Regions from separate parts of the Homo sapiens genome. Here all the other regions are linked to region 3. Evidence: promoter capture Hi-C in 16 types of primary human blood cells and fetal thymus (Javierre and others, 2016). All regions are on one chromosome and are shown on one strand. The core of a region is centred on a gene start or on the middle of the fragment in contact, and the rest is flanking DNA. Distances in the headings are between cores, read along the strand shown. Region 1 overlaps IMMT (inner membrane mitochondrial protein). Region 2 holds the start of CHMP3 (charged multivesicular body protein 3). Region 3 holds the start of REEP1 (receptor accessory protein 1). Region 4 overlaps RNF103-CHMP3 (RNF103-CHMP3 readthrough).

What was found. Contacts are between HindIII fragments. The CHiCAGO score rates a contact against its expected background, and 5 or more counts as called.
Region 1: a fragment that was not itself captured here is called in contact with the fragment with the promoter of REEP1 in region 3 in 2 of 17 cell types (megakaryocytes and total B cells); the score reaches 5.4 in megakaryocytes.
Region 2: a contact is called between the fragment with the promoter of CHMP3 here and the fragment with the promoter of REEP1 in region 3, in 7 of 17 cell types (erythroblasts, naive CD8 T cells, non-activated CD4 T cells and 4 more). The highest score is 11.2, in erythroblasts.
Region 4: a contact is called between a fragment that was not itself captured here and the fragment with the promoter of REEP1 in region 3, in 1 of 17 cell types (endothelial precursors). The highest score is 5.3, in endothelial precursors.

Annotation. Positions count from the first base shown.
Region 1 is chr2:86,183,038-86,186,856 of GRCh38, reverse strand. All of the region lies in intron 1 of IMMT (inner membrane mitochondrial protein), which reads left to right. Among named protein-coding and RNA genes, the nearest start is that of MIR4779, 8.2 kb to the left of the region's middle. The HindIII fragment of the contact is 1,922 bases long and covers 1,098-3,019 here.
Region 2 is chr2:86,561,110-86,565,310 of GRCh38, reverse strand. It overlaps CHMP3 (charged multivesicular body protein 3), which reads left to right and starts at 1,868. Exons shown (of 6, transcript NM_016079.4): 1 at 1,868-2,007. The coding sequence starts at 1,963. The region is part of intron 3 of RNF103-CHMP3 (RNF103-CHMP3 readthrough); the gene reads left to right. CHMP3-AS1 (CHMP3 and RNF103 antisense RNA 1) reads right to left here and starts at 3,241. Exons shown (of 6, transcript NR_183901.1): 1 at 3,064-3,241; 2 at 2,391-2,465; 3 at 1,912-2,043; 4 at 1,529-1,623; 5 at 1,171-1,334. RefSeq lists enhancers at 1,493-1,552, 1,711-2,005, 2,163-2,262, 2,273-2,442. The HindIII fragment of the contact is 23,374 bases long and covers 1-4,201 here.
Region 3 is chr2:86,335,705-86,339,639 of GRCh38, reverse strand. It overlaps REEP1 (receptor accessory protein 1), which reads left to right and starts at 2,014. Exons shown (of 9, transcript NM_001371279.1): 1 at 2,014-2,161. The coding sequence starts at 2,130. The HindIII fragment of the contact is 12,312 bases long and covers 1-3,935 here.
Region 4 is chr2:86,524,552-86,528,566 of GRCh38, reverse strand. All of the region lies in intron 5 of RNF103-CHMP3 (RNF103-CHMP3 readthrough), which reads left to right. All of the region lies in intron 3 of CHMP3 (charged multivesicular body protein 3), which reads left to right. Among named protein-coding and RNA genes, the nearest start is that of CHMP3-AS1, 36 kb to the left of the region's middle. The HindIII fragment of the contact is 977 bases long and covers 1,143-2,119 here.

The DNA of each region.
Region 1 (3,819 bases), core at 809-3,308, 150 kb after region 3:
CCATGAATTTAAAAAGATCTGTTCTTATGAGTTACAGCTGCATAACAGGCCACCTTGAGCTTGGGGTAAAATAACAGTATTTATTGCCTTACTCAGTTCTGGAAAATTTTTGCTCAGAGACCCTCATGAAGTTGCAGTCAGATAGTTACTAGGTCTACAGTCATCCCCAAGTCTTCTTTACTCTCATGTGTGGCAGTAAATACTGGCTGCAGCTGACACCTCAGCAGGGACTGTTGGCTGGATCACCCATCTGTGGCATCTTTAAGTGTCTGGACTTCCATACACTTTGGTGGCTGGGTTCCAAGGGCAAGTGTGACAAGAGGCAGAGCTAGGTAGAAGCTGTATCCTTTTTATGTCTTAGTCTCAGGAGTTACAGAGCATCACTTTCACTGCCTTCTATTAGTGAATTAGTAACAAAGGCCTGCCCTTGTTTAAGGGAAGTGTACATAAAACTTATTATTGTTGGGAGAGGGGCACGTTTCTGGAACAGCATGTGGTATAGGAAGTATTGTTGCAGTCAATTTTGGATATTATCCTCAGCCTTCTGGACCCAACTGACATCCCTCCCACATGCACATCCCTCCCACTCACAACCTTCTCCAAGACTCTCCAGAGTCTAATGCCATCAAAGCATCAGCATTAGGAACAAGATCTTGTCATCTGAATCAGATCCTACTATGGATAAGACATCTTGAATGTGGTCCCTAGGGTATAGCTTCTTAAACACTTTTTTTGGTGATCTAAAGCCCTGTAAACTAAAGAGACAAATTATCTGCTCCCCATACATTCAGCATATGGTGGTATGACAGACACAGGATAATCACTCTAGACACTCCTATTCAAAAAGGCAGAAACTAAGAGGCACACAGCAGTCACCATTCCATAACAAGTGTAAAATTCAGCTGGCCCTATGTTTCTAATTCCTTGATGAGAGCTCAGTCCTACTGCTTGGGAATGATTCTCCTCAGCTCTTGGTTCTACCCTTTGGGCTCCTGGTTTTACACTTGAATTATTCTTCCGTTTCCAGAATATGTTGTCTGTTACAGCTGAATTGTTTCACAGCCTACTTCCTGTCTGTAGAAGTTTGTCTAGAAGCTTCTTTTCATTTTGTCCTCTTTTTCACTTTAAATATAAGCCAGCATGTTTTTTATTGACACAATTCTCAACAAGTTTGTGGGTTTCCTGTGAATCTTAATGGGATTTTCTTCATTAGATGCATGATACACATCTTATCAAGATAAGCCCTTCTCCATTTTGGGCTTCCTGTGAGGCTGCTGTAGGTAACACCTTTAATGTTCTGAGTAACCTTATTGATTCAATAGAATCTGGGAAACACATCCTTATGATTCTTAGAGGGCCTTTTCCTCAAGGTAAAAAGACTCTCTGAGGGGCACCTCCTTAGATCTTTTTGAGATCTCAAAGTATCTTTTGGTCACACACTAGATTTGATCTTTGGCTTGAAGCCCTTCTCTATTTGAGAATCTATTTGAAAACAATAAGCAGTTTTATTTTTGAACCCACCAAATCCTGACTCTTTTATATTTCCTTTAAATTTTGCTTGAAAGCAAAACAGGTTTTTGTTTTGTTTTTTAATGCTTATCTCTGTCCTTATCATACTCAGCTAAAAGAAACCAGTTAGCGCTTGTGATGAACACTATACTTGGAACTCTTTTGTTTTTTTTTTTTTAAGACAGAGTCTGGCTCTGTCACCCAGGCTGGCGCAATCTCGGCTCACTGCAAGCTCTGCCTCCCGGGTTCATGCTGCCTCAGCCTCCCGAGTAGCTGGGACTACAGGCGCACACTGCCACGCCCGGCTAATTTTCTGTATTTTTAGTAGAGACGGGGTTTCACCATGTTCAGCAGGATGGTCTCAATCTCCTGACCTTGTGATCCGCCCGCTTCGGCCTCCCAAAGTGCTGGGATTACAGGCGTAAGCCATCGCGCCTGGCCTACTTGGAACTCTTTAGCCAAGTACGTCAGTTCATTAGGTGTAGCTACAGCTATACTTAATTTTCTATTTTCCATGTCTGTCATTACAGATGACAGTTTTGATAAACTTCTGTCACTACATAACAAGAATATCTTTTCCTCCAGGTTCCAAAATTTTTTTTTTTTTTTGCTTTTCTTTAAGCCCTCACCAACAGGCTCTGGAAGGCCATTAGGCTTCTGCTCACAGTCTCTTCAAGGTTCTTCAGCTTCTGCCGCCCCCAACACCAGTCCCAAAGTCATGACCTCGTGTTTATGTTTTGTTGCAGTAGCACCCCTCTTCTAGGTATAAACATATGTTTGGTTATCTGTAGCTGTGTAACAGACCACCCTAAACTTAGTGGTATTAAATAGCAGTGTAATTATAATTATTATATTAACAATAACAAACGTATTAATATATAAATTATGTAAATAAAAATTACTCAGTGCTTTGAGAGGCCAAGGTAGGAGGATTGCTTGAGGCCATGAGTTCAAAACTAGCTTGGGTAACATAGCAGACCTGGCTCTATAAAAAACAAGAACAAAAATATTAGCTGGGTATGGTGGGCATGTGCCTGTAGTCCCAGCTACTCAGGGGGCTGAGGCTGGAGGATCACTTGAGCCCAGGAGTTAGAGGTTACAGTGAGCTATGATCATACCACTGCATTCCACAACCTTGGCAACAGAGCAAGACTCAGTCTCTTAAAAAAAAAATTATTTATATGCTTGAAACACTCTATTTCTGTATTTTCACCCCTCAGATTGTCAATGATGAAAAAAAAATGATACAATACAGTGTGTTGGAGAAAATGTGGGAAAACATACTTTCATATTACTAGAGGGCAGTTTGGCTAATTTGGCAGTATTAATCAACGTGGCAAATTTTACTTTTAAGAATAGACCCAAAATTGTGTATACAGTGTTACTCAGGTAGCATTATTTATTTTAACAAAAATTTAGAAAAAACCTCAGTGTCCCTCAATAGGGGCTGGTTAACAATTAAACATTAAGTAACAATGGAATACCAAATCATGAAATCCCTTGGGAAGCTTTTCACGTACTGATATACAGTGATTTAAAATATATATCCTTGAACTTTAATAGAGAATTGCGTGTATATTATGGTATCATTTGTGTAAAGGTGGGGAAAGTCAGGAGAATATGCACATTTGAATAAATATACATAAAATGTCTCTGGATAAATAAGAAACTGACAGTGTCAGTTGCCTATGGCAAGCATGGGGTGGCTGGGGAAAGAAGTATGAGGAAGATTTTACTCTATGCATATTTAAACTTTTAAAATTATTATTTAAAACCTCAGATTTTAAATTTATTTAGTATTAGGAGCTTTTAACTTATAGTCAAAACACATTCTGTCAAAGGGAGGATGGAGAGTCAAGATAAAAGAAAATAGAAGGTAGATAAAGAAACATTTAAAAATACTGATGCTGGGCGTGGTTGTTCATGCCTGTAATTCCAACACTTTGGGAGGCCGTGGCAGGAGAATAGGTTGAGACCAGGAGTTCGAGACCAGCCTGGTCAACATAGCAAGACCTGGTCTCTACAAACAACAAAAAAAATTATTTAAAGAAAAACTGATGTGACTTTGGGTAGTCTGAAACTCTAGTATTAAATTTGTCCCTGATTTCCTGGAGTCAGTTATCCATTGTGCTTGCTGCTTGATACTCCAGTTAGCTAATTATCCACTGTTGACAGTGCCTTAACTTTTTACCTGAATACCTATTTATACCTAGACAGATAAAAAATGCAACCTTAAATATAATACAACTTCAGTGGCCTCTTAATATTTTCTCCCTAAGTCACAAAAATGGAATTGTTGACATATAAAAA
Region 2 (4,201 bases), core at 619-3,118, 230 kb before region 3:
GTGGCTCAATGTATATAATATAATCTCAACTAAGTAAAAATAGGCCCGGGCAAGGTGGCTAACACCTGTAATCCCAACACTTTGAGAGGCTGAGGTGGGAGGATCGCTTGAGCCCAGGAGTTTGAGACCCGCCTGGGCAACATGGCTAACCCTTGTCTCTACAGAAAAATTAAAAACACAGTGGGCGTGGTGGCTGACACCCAGCTACTCAGGAGGCTAAGGTGGGAGGATCACTTGAATCTGGGAGGTAGAGGCTGCAGTGAGGCAAGATCCTGCCACTGCACTCCAGCCTGGGTGACAAAGTGATACCCGGTCTCAAAAACAAATACATAAATAAAAATAAAAGTATATTTTCCAAAGGAAAAGGTTTCAGAAGATTCACACTATATTTAATAGTTGGTGTGAATCCTTTGAGACCTTTTCCCCTGAGGAAGTGAGAATGAGGGTTTAACTTTTCACAATGAACAGGCAGTGCTTTTTTAAAAACAACTTTATTGAAGTATGATTGGACATAAAATAAATCGCACATACTTAGTGTCCAACCTGGTAAGTTTTGATATTGTATACATCTGTGAAACCATCATCACAATCAAGATATTATCCATCATCCCCCTAAACTTCGTGTCTCTTTGTAATCCCTCTTTTCTGCCTCTTTCTGACCCCACTCCTATCCGCTAGCAACCGCCCATGTACTCTCTGTCACTATGTATTAGTTTGCATTTTCCAGAATGTTATGTAAATGGAATCATACGGTTCTGGCTTCTTTCACTTGGCAGAATTATTTTGAGATTCATCCATGCTGTTGCATTTATCAATAGTTTACTTTTTTATTGCTCAGTACTATTCCTTCGTATGGATCAATCACGACTGGTTTATCCATTCACTTGTTGATAGACATTTGGATTGTTTCCAGTTTATGGCTATTACAAATAGAGCTGCTATGAACATTTGTGTACAAGTCTTTGTAAGAACATATGCTTTTTTCCCTCTTGGGTAAATAGCTAGGAATGGAAGGCTGGCTTTGTTTAGCATTTTAAGAAATTGTCAAAATGTTTTCAAAGCTGCCGAACCATTTTATGATTCCACCAGAGACAGGAGTATGGGGCTGAGGTAACAAATGGTCCCCTTCACCATCCTCGGATGAGTTAATGACAGTAACCATCAGCTCACCGTATAGGCCTAATCAGGAACTGTCCGTGCTAAAATGTGTCTAGTTCTCTTTAGTCAGATTCCTTTGAGAGTGTGATTAAGCTCACGGTCAGTGTGGCGTGTAGGACGGGACACACATGGACAAATGCTAGGCAGGAATCGCCCACGCTGGAAAGGGCGATGGCCTGAAAAAAAACGACCGCAGTTGGGATGGAAAGGGGAGGGTTGAAGTTCAGACATATTGAAGTTAGAATGGTTGGGACTTGGTAAGAGGGGAGAGAGGACGATGCCTAGGGTTTAGTGACCAGGTGATGGTGGTGCAAGCAGAGGGGAGGAGTGGGTTGGCGGGAGGAAAAAGAGGTTATTTTTGGTTTGTCACCTGTGAGTTGCCTACTGGACACAAAGATGAAGCTGTCGGGAAAGTGATGCTAAGTGTACACGTCTGCGTGGAGATCCAGACTTCTGGTGCAACATCTAGGTTTAGGTGAAGTATTAGAAGCAGTTGTAGCCAACAAATTCGTATCTTTCAGAGCAATCATTTCTACACCTTACGAAAAGCACCGAATCCGTGGTCTCCCCCACACAGACATGACCAGAACATGTGCGATGACGTCAGCCTTTTTGACTAGTCTCCCACTCACTCGATTCTGCGCAGGCGTATGGCGCATGCGCAACATCCCCTAGTGCCGCCGCTCCCTACTCTGGGGGTTGGGACTACCTCCTTTTCCGCGGGCCCCGCCCAGGCGGCTGCCCGTGACCTGCCTGGGCGCGGGGAACTGAAAGCCGGAAGGGGCAAGACGGGTTCAGTTCGTCATGGGGCTGTTTGGAAAGACCCAGGAGAAGCCGCCCAAAGAACTGGTAAGGGCTACGGCGGCGGCAGATAAGCGGGTGGATCTGTGTGGGGCGTAGTGAAGTTGGTAAATGACAGGACACTCTTCTCCCCACCGCCTGCCCGATACCGCCCGGCCCCCATTTCCGGGGACTCCCACTCGACAGGGGGGCCGGAGGAAGAGTCTTTAGGAGTCGGCTGTGGGACGCGAGAGCTCCTGGTGCCATGGCTCTCGAACAGGTAGCCGAGGGTGGATGAAGAGTTTCTCCACCTCGCCACTGAGCGCGTAGGCAGCGACACCGTCCTGGCCTCGGAAACCTCTTCCCCCTGCGCGCGTTGGTACGACCCGCCCGGAACCTTTTCCCAGCGTAGGCCCCACCCCTCCAGCCCGGCTGCGGACCACCCGGAGAACCTTCTCCTGCCCGAAGCGTTGTTTGGAGCGGGCCGGGTCGCGTCTGCCGGAGGAGCCGTCTGTTCTCCGTCCTCCCTGTTGTGTTGAAAAAGAGGCTCAGTTTCCTCTTTCCCCAGCCCTTGTGTTGACCCTAGGCACATACCGTAGCGGGGCAGGGACTCGACCCAGAAGAATGTTACAGAAGATAGCTCTGGACCCGGCTTCGAACTCTCGTTACCTATTAATTGAGATAATATTGGGAGGCAAACAGTTGAAAATGCCCTGCAGTCAGTCAACCTAAGTTTGAATCCTGCCTTCCCACATCTCAGCTCTGTGATCTCTGGAAAGTTCACTTCTCAGTGCCTTCTCGACTGTGAAGCCAGAATAATAGTAGTGTCACCTCAGAGTAATTGAAGATTCAGGGATGTAAAGTTTTCATATTGGTAGTTAGGGCTAATTCTTTAAATACGGCACAGCTTTGCTACTCAAATGCCAACCAGCAGCATCAACATCACCTGGGAGCTTGTTAAATCTCGGACACCACTCCAGACCCACTGAGTCAGATTTTGAATTCTGACAAGCTCCCTAATGATTAGTGTGCACATCAGTGCTTTGAGAAGCACTGCTCTGCAACACCTAGGCTTGTCCATAATGGAAAAAAAAAATCCTGAAATCCTTTAATAAATGATCTTACCTGTTCAGCTCTAGCAGGCACATTTTAAAAACTAATCTTATGCATCTTGCAATTCCTGGCACATAATGTGCGTTAATGTAAATTTGTTGTTGTTGTTGTTAAAGGCCCTAGAACAGTAGACACTCATTATTTTCGTCAGGAAACTTACTCAGTTTTGCTCCTTGGTAAAATAAAAATTGTGGCGCTTAAATGAAATAACGGTATAACATCACTTTGGAAACTATAGAACATTATATAGATGCACATTTTGTGACATCTGTATATTCTAAGATTCTTGTTATTGTAGAAGTGTGGTAGGGAGAGATTATTTGTTGTCTTCAGTGTTTGGCCTTGGCATTGCCATTCGTAAATTGAGATAAGATTATGGAGAAGCAAAAAAGATGCTGGGGAAATGGTTGCTTTATTGTTTAAACTAGTCTCTAGTATATGTACTACTATACTACTCTAGTATATTGTACACTTAGATTGTTTTTAAATGATAAATTGCTAAGAACACGATATTGGTACACTCTTCAGTAGGGTAATCTACCTGAGAAAGCTGATTGACACTGGAAAATGGCAGGGTTGATGCATGAGATTGGTTTTTAAAACTATGCTTGCCAGAGCCGAACAGGTAAGATCATTTATTGAATAAAAAATTTTAGTTGTTTTTCCCCCCATTATGGACAAGTCTGGGTATTGTAGAGCAGTGCTTCTCAAGCATTAGTGTGCACACTAATCATTAGGGATCTTGTCAGAATTCAAAATCTGATTCAGTAGGTCTTGGATAGGGTCTGAGATTTCTAATAAGCTCCCAGGTGATGTTGATGCTGCTGGTCTACACTTGAGTAGCAAGATTGTAGAGTGAATTAAGATTAGCCCTAACTACCACCACCTTTAGCTAACATATTGAACCAGGCATTGTGTTAAGCACTCTGCAATGTTATGAGGTAGGAACTGTTATTGTCTCCACTTTACAGGTGGCAACTGAGGCATACAGTATTTAGGTAATTTGCCCAAGGTCATACAGTTTGTGAATTACAGCACCAGAGGTTATGTATTCTAAGGCCTATACTTAGAATTATCATGCCATTTATACTACCTCCCAAAGAGGGATTATAAAGGTGAAATAAGAAGCCAAAGAACTTAACTTCTAGCA
Region 3 (3,935 bases), core at 765-3,264:
ATATGGTGGGGCCAGACACAGATCAAGAGAGAGAAGCTAGAAAGAGTTTTAGAGCTTTTTATATCCACAGTTTCCTGGAGAGATCACAGCACACCATGCAGGTCCACTCAGGGCCAGGGTCTGTCACAGAGAGAGGGAGAGAGGGGAATTGTGGACAAACATCTTTATCATGGTTTCTGAGGGAAGGAAAGAGTGAAATAAGGCAAGCAGATATAGGATAGGCTAATTTGGATAATTTCAGCGGGTTCTGAAGTACAGGGGCTGTAACTAGTTGTTTGGTGCCTAGCCCTGGACAGGTGTATAGTGTCCCGCGTGTGAGAGCCTGCTAACGGAAGTGGTTGGGGGTATGCAGTTAATAGACTGCTGGAGAAGGGGAACTGACCAGCCTCCAGCCTGAGCCTCAAAACTGGGTCAAGGCAGCATGAAAAAACTGCTACATTACAGCTATTTTATGGGTTCTTTGGAGACCTGAGATATGAGAGCATGTCTCATCTGCAGTCCCTTTGTTGTCCGTGAAGTCTTTCTTCTGACTATATCAGGCACACGCACGCACAGATTCTGCTACATCTGAGAGTACTAAGCTGTCTCCTGCGCTTCTCACATCTGACACTGAATTATACATGACACCATCATCAGCAAAGGACAGGGCGCTGGGAGCACCACGCAGAACCTAAGCTATTGGAGGGTGGGAAAAGCAGCAGCAGAGCCTAGGAGTAGAGGACAAAGCGTTTCCAGTGTAACAGAATAATGTACTATCTGCGGCCGGGACTAGGGTGAGCAGAGTGAGGCGCTCAGTGAGGGTGCAACATTTAAGAGGTGCCATAAAATTCAGCAACTAAAATACATAATAGGTGGCTCACTCCTGTAATCCCAGCACTTTGGGAGGCCAAGGCGGGCGGATCACGAGGTCAGGAGTTTGAGACCAGCCTGGACAACATGGTGAAACCCCGTCTCTACTAAAAATACAAAAATTAGCTGGGCGTGGTGGCGCACTCCTGTAATCTCAGCTACTCATGAGGCTGAGGCAGAAGAATCGCTTGAACCCGGGAGGCGGAGCTTGCAGTGAGCCGAGATCGCGCCACTGCACCCCAGAGCGAGACTCTGTCTCATAAAAAAACAACAACAACAAAAAAAACCACCATAATATTTAATACGGTATTTTAAAAAATACATAAAAACGTTTATATAGGGTGCACAAGTTCCCTTTTGCCTAAGAGTTCAACGTGGCTCAGCGGGGCACTGGTGCTAAGCAGTCGCAGCTTCTAGTCTCCTCCTAGGGCCCGGAGCAGCCCCCAAGGAAAGGCCTTCCCTAGGAAGAAGTAGCCCTTCAGCCCAGCCTAGAAGAAGGAGCTGAATCAAACCAAGGCAGGACGATGAGGCGTGGCGTGTACTGACAGGGAAGAAGAAACAGCAAATATTTGAGTCCAAGATGCCTGGAGGGAAAAGAGCTAGAGGACTATTTGGGGGAATGGTCTTGGCAACACGGTTCTAGGCAGGTACCACGATCATATAGGGACTCTGTAGAATTTTAAGTAGGGAGGCAAGCGCCCAGGTTTGTTTCTTATGCAGAAAGTGCTGAGCAACGGACAGACTGAAGAGGTTAGGTCTGGATCCAGGTAAACCCTTTATGAGGCTAACGCACTAGCTGAATGAGGGATGACAGCATCCCACCTAGACAGGTGCAGACAGATTCCCGAGGTTCAGGTTCGGACTTCAGTTTCTCCGCTGGAACGCTGAGGGTGGGGCAGCACCCGGGTCCCTGCCCTGCAAACGGGGCCGCTGCAGGGTTCCTTTGGCGGGGCCGGTGCCCCGGGGAGCGCGCAGGACGCGCCCGCCTTCAGCCGGGGGCCAGGGCGAGCGGGACGGGGCGGGCCCGCGGGTGCCCTGACCAGCTCACCGCCCAATCGCTGCGGGCCCGCCGAGCCCCGGGGGGCTGGGGCCGCCGCCGCCGCCGCCAGAACGTGCCGCGGCTGCGCCAACGCGCGAACGCCGGGCAGGGCGGCGGGCGCGCTCAGTCTGGCGGCGGCTGCCGTGAGCTGACTGACGTTCCGGGAACGCCGCAGCAGCCCGCGCCGCCCGCAGCCTAGCCGAGCCGCGCCGCCCGGGCCTCGCCCGCCCGCCTGCCCGCCATGGTGTCATGGATCATCTCCAGGCTGGTGGTGTAAGTGGCCTTCTCCCCCGCGCCCCTCCGTCCCCTCCCTCCCCGCCCCCGGCCCCGGGCTGCGCGCGCCCCTACAGCGCCCGGTCCCAGTGGCTCGGGCTATTAATACCCGGCGCAGCTAAATTTAGCAGGTACAGTAGCCGCCGAGGACGCCTGCGGGCGGACGGGCGGCGCAGGACGCGGCTGCTGCCCAGGAGGCAGCCGGCGCCGGCGGCCGCTTGCGGGGGGCTGGGCCGGGACGGCGAGGGCTGGGGCGCTCGGGGGTTCCGTGGGGGCTGCGTCTCGCCGCGCGCTGGCCGCTTTGTTCCTCAGCTCGGTCGATTTGCAGAGGCCCCGAATGGGCGCACCGCGGACACGCGTCTCTCTCCTTTGGCAGAAATGTGAGGTCGCCCGGCGCCGCGCCCCGCCGCCCCAGCTTTTGTCAGGTGGAAAGGACAGCGCAGACGAACCAGGGGCGCTGCCTGGAGGGTCAGCGCGGAACGGGTGGAGAGGCAGAGGCGGGGCTCCCAGTGGGGTTGGAAAAATCCTCCTTTTTAGGTGTCTGCATCGACAGCGGCAAAGGCAGCTGGGACATGGGAAGACGCATGTGAATCTTGGAGTAAACGCCTGGAGCCCCCGGCTCCGACTCCTTTTGCAGGGGATTGAGAGACAGGGGCAGGTACCTCCAGGAATGCACGGGAAATTTTCAAGTGACAGCCACCCGCATGGTGGCGATGACACCTCCCAGGCCTTGCAGGAGAGCGCAGAGTCATCTAGGGTGAGGTCTGTGTGAAGTCATTGGGGGTGGGCGTGGGGGCCGATTTTCTCCTTCAAGCCCCAGGACCTGTAGGCGTTTGAAGAGCTTCCCCGGTGGATTTATTCTCCTTTGGAGATAGACGTGGCTGTTCCAAGTCCCTGTTCTTCCCTAACCATCCTGGCCTGAGTCAGAACAGATTTGCCACCTGCTGTAGCTAGCAGGGGCTGAAATGGGTGTGGGGAGTCTAAGGCGGGGAGGAGGGTGGCAGGCACCTCGGGCTTTTTCTTTGTCTGAGAACACGGGGCTCTGGACCCCAGTGATTGTGCACCATCACTCCCCACGTTTTGAAACACCACCCATCTCCCTTCCCTTCTTTACTGATTTTCCCTTCCGAAGTGGATCTCAGCATTGTCTCCCGCCACCATTCAGGGCTTTCCTCCCAAAGCCAGTGTCTGTGCCTCTCAGCCCCCAAGTCATTCCGTGAAGGCCTCTCCACAGCTGTTCCTGACTGCGGGGTGTTTGCGCTGCACCTTGAGGTGGCATGTTAAATATTTAGAAGATTTCTGCTGGCAGAGCCGACATGAATAATACAGGAAAGTGGCTGACACGCCTTGCCCAGCCTCATGCCTGACCAACACTGTCTTGCCTTCAGGGTGGTGTTTCCTCTCTGGGATCGATATTGCCAGTGGCTTCTGGGAAGCCCTCAGGGTGGGGCTGGAGAGTTGAGCTGGCCTGGCTGGTGGGCTCTCTGTAGGTCCTGCTGGGCTGGGAGTGAGGGCATCTGATCCTGGGTCATGTGACTATCATTAGTTTTATTAGCACTGGGTCATGTGACTATCATTAGTTTTATTAGCACCTCCCTCACCCCTGCCCTTTTTTTTTTTTTTTTTTTGAGACCGAGTCTCGCTCTGTCGCCCAGGCTGGAGAGTGCAGTGGCACAGTCTCGGCTCACTGAAGCCTCCGCCTCCTGGGTTCAAGCGATTCTCCTGCCTCAGCCTCCCGAGTAGCTGGGATTACAAGCGCCTGCCACCACGCCCA
Region 4 (4,015 bases), core at 382-2,881, 190 kb before region 3:
TTTGGTAATGGCAGCAAGTGACTGTCAGATATTTAGATTGAATACAGACTCAGAAATCATGGAGAGCCAGGCATGGTGGCATGCAGTTGTAGTCCCAGCTGCTCAGGAGGCTGAGCAAGGAGAATTAAGTGCTTGAGCCCAGGGGTTTGAGGCCACAGTGAGCTCTGATTACACCTGTGAATAACCACTGTGCCTGAGCCTGGACAATAAATATAGCAAGACTGTGTCTAAAAAAGAAATAAATTATGGAGAAATTTTTCACTGAAGAATATTTTCAACTCTCTGTCAGATACTTCATTGATCACACTCAAAAGAAGTTAGAAGATGAAGTGTTTTAATTTATAGGATGGTGCCAAATGGGTTTCTAATGCATTATTTGGTTGTATTTCGTTCTGAAGGTATTTTCTTCACATTCAATTTTAACATTCGAATGTGGTTTTAAAATATGCCTAACCATGAATGTATCATTAGTTTCTTTCTCGAGATACTGAAGAGAATAATCATGGGCTGGGAAAGAGTAAAAAAAAAATGACAAAATGTTTGTACCACATCATCCTTTAAAAAATCTATCAAGATTATCTTTTATTTATTTATTTTTGTTTTTTTGAGATAGAGTCTTTCTCTGTCACCCAGGCTGGAGTGCAGTGGTGTGATCTCGGCTAAATGCAATCTGCGCCTCCCAGGCTCAAGCGATTCGCCCGCCTCACCCTCCCAAGTAGCTGGGATTACAGGTGCCCACCACTACTCCCAGCTAATTTTTGTATTTTTAGTAGAGACGGGGTTTCGCCATGTTACCCAGGCTGGTCTCAAACTCCTGACCTCAGGTGATCTACCTTCCTCGGCTCTGCAAAGTGCTGGGATTACAGGCATGAGCCACCACTTCCGGCCTATCTTCACTTTTAAATGCCATGTTATTACAGCCCTAAAATGATGATTTTAGGCTCTTGAAATACTGGATATATCACCTAGATATGCCTTTTGATCAAACTGAGTATCAGTGCCATAAAGAAATAGTTTAATCCTGTCATGTTGAAAGCTCAAGTATTATTGTCTTTTATAGCCAGCTTGAAAAATTCAGATTGATTCTCAATTTTTCCTGCAACATGCTCAAAAGACACATGTTCAGTTGACCATGATAAGCTTGTTTAAACATTTTTCACTCTTTCCTTATTGCTTATTTTGCCTTTTTCCCTCTATGAATAAAGCAGTGTATGCACAGCCTCTTTTTTTTCCAATTGTAGAGATGAAAGCAGAGGATAATGTAATAAGTCTTTATGTACCTATTATACAGAACTAATAAAATTTATCTTTTTTTTTTTTGGTAGAGACGGGGTTTTACCATGTTGCCCAGGATGGTCTTGAACTGCTGAGCTCAAGTGATCCACTGCCTCAGTCTTCCAAAGTGCTGGGATTATAGTTGTGAGCCGCTGCACCTGGCCCAGAACTAATACAATTTAACGTTTTGTTGTATTTGCCTGCTTCTATATTATATATATATAAAAAAAGCATTATTACAAAAGTTGAAGCTCCTTTAATACACCTTCCCAGTTTCATTCTCTTCTCTCCCAACCTCTCCAGAGAAAGCCACTATCATGAATCTTAAAATTTTTATGAATGGTATCATACTATAGATACCATTCTGCGTCTTTTTGCTCCATTTATCATCGTTTTTGAAATATGTTCATGTGGATAAATGTAGGCAGGGTGCAGTGGCTCATACCTGTAATGCCAGCCCTTTGGGAGGCTGTGGCAGGAGGATCACTTGAGCCAGGAGTTCAAAACCAGCCTGGGAAACATAATGAAACCCTGTCTCTATAAAACAAGACAAAACAAAACAACAGCAACCACAATAAAATTATCTATGTGTATGTGTATATATATATAGAGAGAGAGAGAGAGAGAGAGCATGCTCTAGTCCATTGATTTGAACTACTAGATGAAATTACATTGATGTATCACATTTTATTTTTCTGTTCCCCTTTTGATGGATATTAAGGTTATTTTCAGTTTTTGCTGTGTGTAAAGGTTTAGGACAGTTGTATACTCAGAAGTAGAATTGCTAAGTAAGTAGCTGGGTTTAAATTTTGCTAGAATTACAAAATTGCTCTCCAAAGAAGCTTTACTAATTTATATTTCCAGCAGCAGTTCATGAGTTCTTTTTTTCCATACCTTTTCACCTTTTTGACTTGGTATTGTCAGACTTTTTTATTTTTGAGAAATGTTATCTTGTGTTAATAGTTCTCTCAGAGCTACTAAACTCGAGCATTCTCTTTTCTTTGCCCTTTCTTCCTGTGTCCTGATTCCAAAATACCTTTTCAGCCAGTTATCGTCATAGTAAGTAATCATTAGTCTGCATGCAAAAACTCTTTTATCATACACTTTCAGCAGTATACATAACAAAAGCTTCCCTGTGCACTGCACATAAGAGCCTATCGTTTAAATGTACACCCATAACAATATGTTAAGTTGTTCATTTCATATATACTGTAGCTTTACCAGAATTGAAAAGTAAAGTATTTGCTCTTTGGCCTCTGAATGTTAAGGTGCTCGAGGGCTCTATTCTAGATCCTCTGCTCCTTTCCATCTTTACTCCCAGTAGTCGATCTTATCTAACCCCATGCCTTTAAATGCCATTGAGTTTTATCTTCAGGGCTGACTTTATCTCTAAGTGCGTAATTGGCATCTCCACTCAGATGTCTCAAGGGGTATCTCAAAATTGATATAAAAAAATCTTGATTTTCCTTCTCCCACCACTTTGTCTTCTTCCAGTCTTTCTACTATGAGAATTTTTTTTTATTTTAATTTTTGGCATCATTAAAAAATTAAACATATGTATACTCTGGGTTACCTTATAATTGATGAGTTTCATGAGACTTGAATCCCCCATTTGCATTTTTGTTTATGAGGTTTGGTGTCAAATTTCACTGTGGCAATCCAGTGTGAAAAGAGCAAAACCCAACTTACTGTGTAAATGTCCTTGCCGAGGGAATCCCATCTGATGCAAGGATTTTAAGTAGTTTTTTTTTTTTTTTTTGAGACAAGATCTCGCACTGTCGCCCAGGCTGGAGTGCAGTGGTGCCATCTCGGCTCACTGCAACCTCAGTAGTCTTAATGGAGAAAAGCGGGAAAGGAGTCACCAGACAGATAGATGAGAACAGTATATATATGCATAGTTATCAAGTATTTTACCTGTAGCGTAACCCACATTATAAGTGGTGTTTTAGTTCAGCAAAGTATCACATGAAATTTACGTTGTTAATGTGAATTTTATTGATTTTGAAGTTTTTTGTATTTAATTTTGTTTTTGAAATAGTTTTATAATTGTACAATTATAGGCATTGGGAATTTTTACCCAATTAGTAAAATACACATAATTAAAGCCAACAACAGAAAGTTATTGGTAACAGGGGAACTGCTAACATTTTATTTTTCTTCAGTGGAGGACTGAATCAGTAAATTATGATTTATTTAGGTTTCAGCATAGTATTCAGCTACAGAAAGATGTTAATGATGCATCATTTAATAAGAAAGCAAGTTGCAGAACAGTATATATAGCATGATAGCACTCTGTAAATAAGTAGAGGATGTGTTTGTGTAGTTGTGTAAATAAATGATAAATGGATAAACAGAGGTCTGAAAAAGGTTCACTTCTGAGGAGAGAAGTTGGATTGTTTGAATCATCCTGTATTGTTTTCTCTTTAACTTCTTATTATGGAAATATTAAGCATATACAAAAGCAGAGTGAATACCCAAATGAATCTCTATGTACCTATCACCCAGCTTAAACAATTGTCAACTCTTGGCTGATTTTACTGAATTTATATTCATCCCACCTAGTCCCTATATTTTCCTCTGGGAATCCATATACATTTATCCCTCGGTGTCCACAGGGGATTGGTTCCAGGATCCCCACAGATACCAAAATTTGTGGATGTTCAAGTCCCTTATATAAAATGAGGTAGTATTTGCATATAACCTACACATATCTTCCTGTATACTTTAACCTCTAGATTAA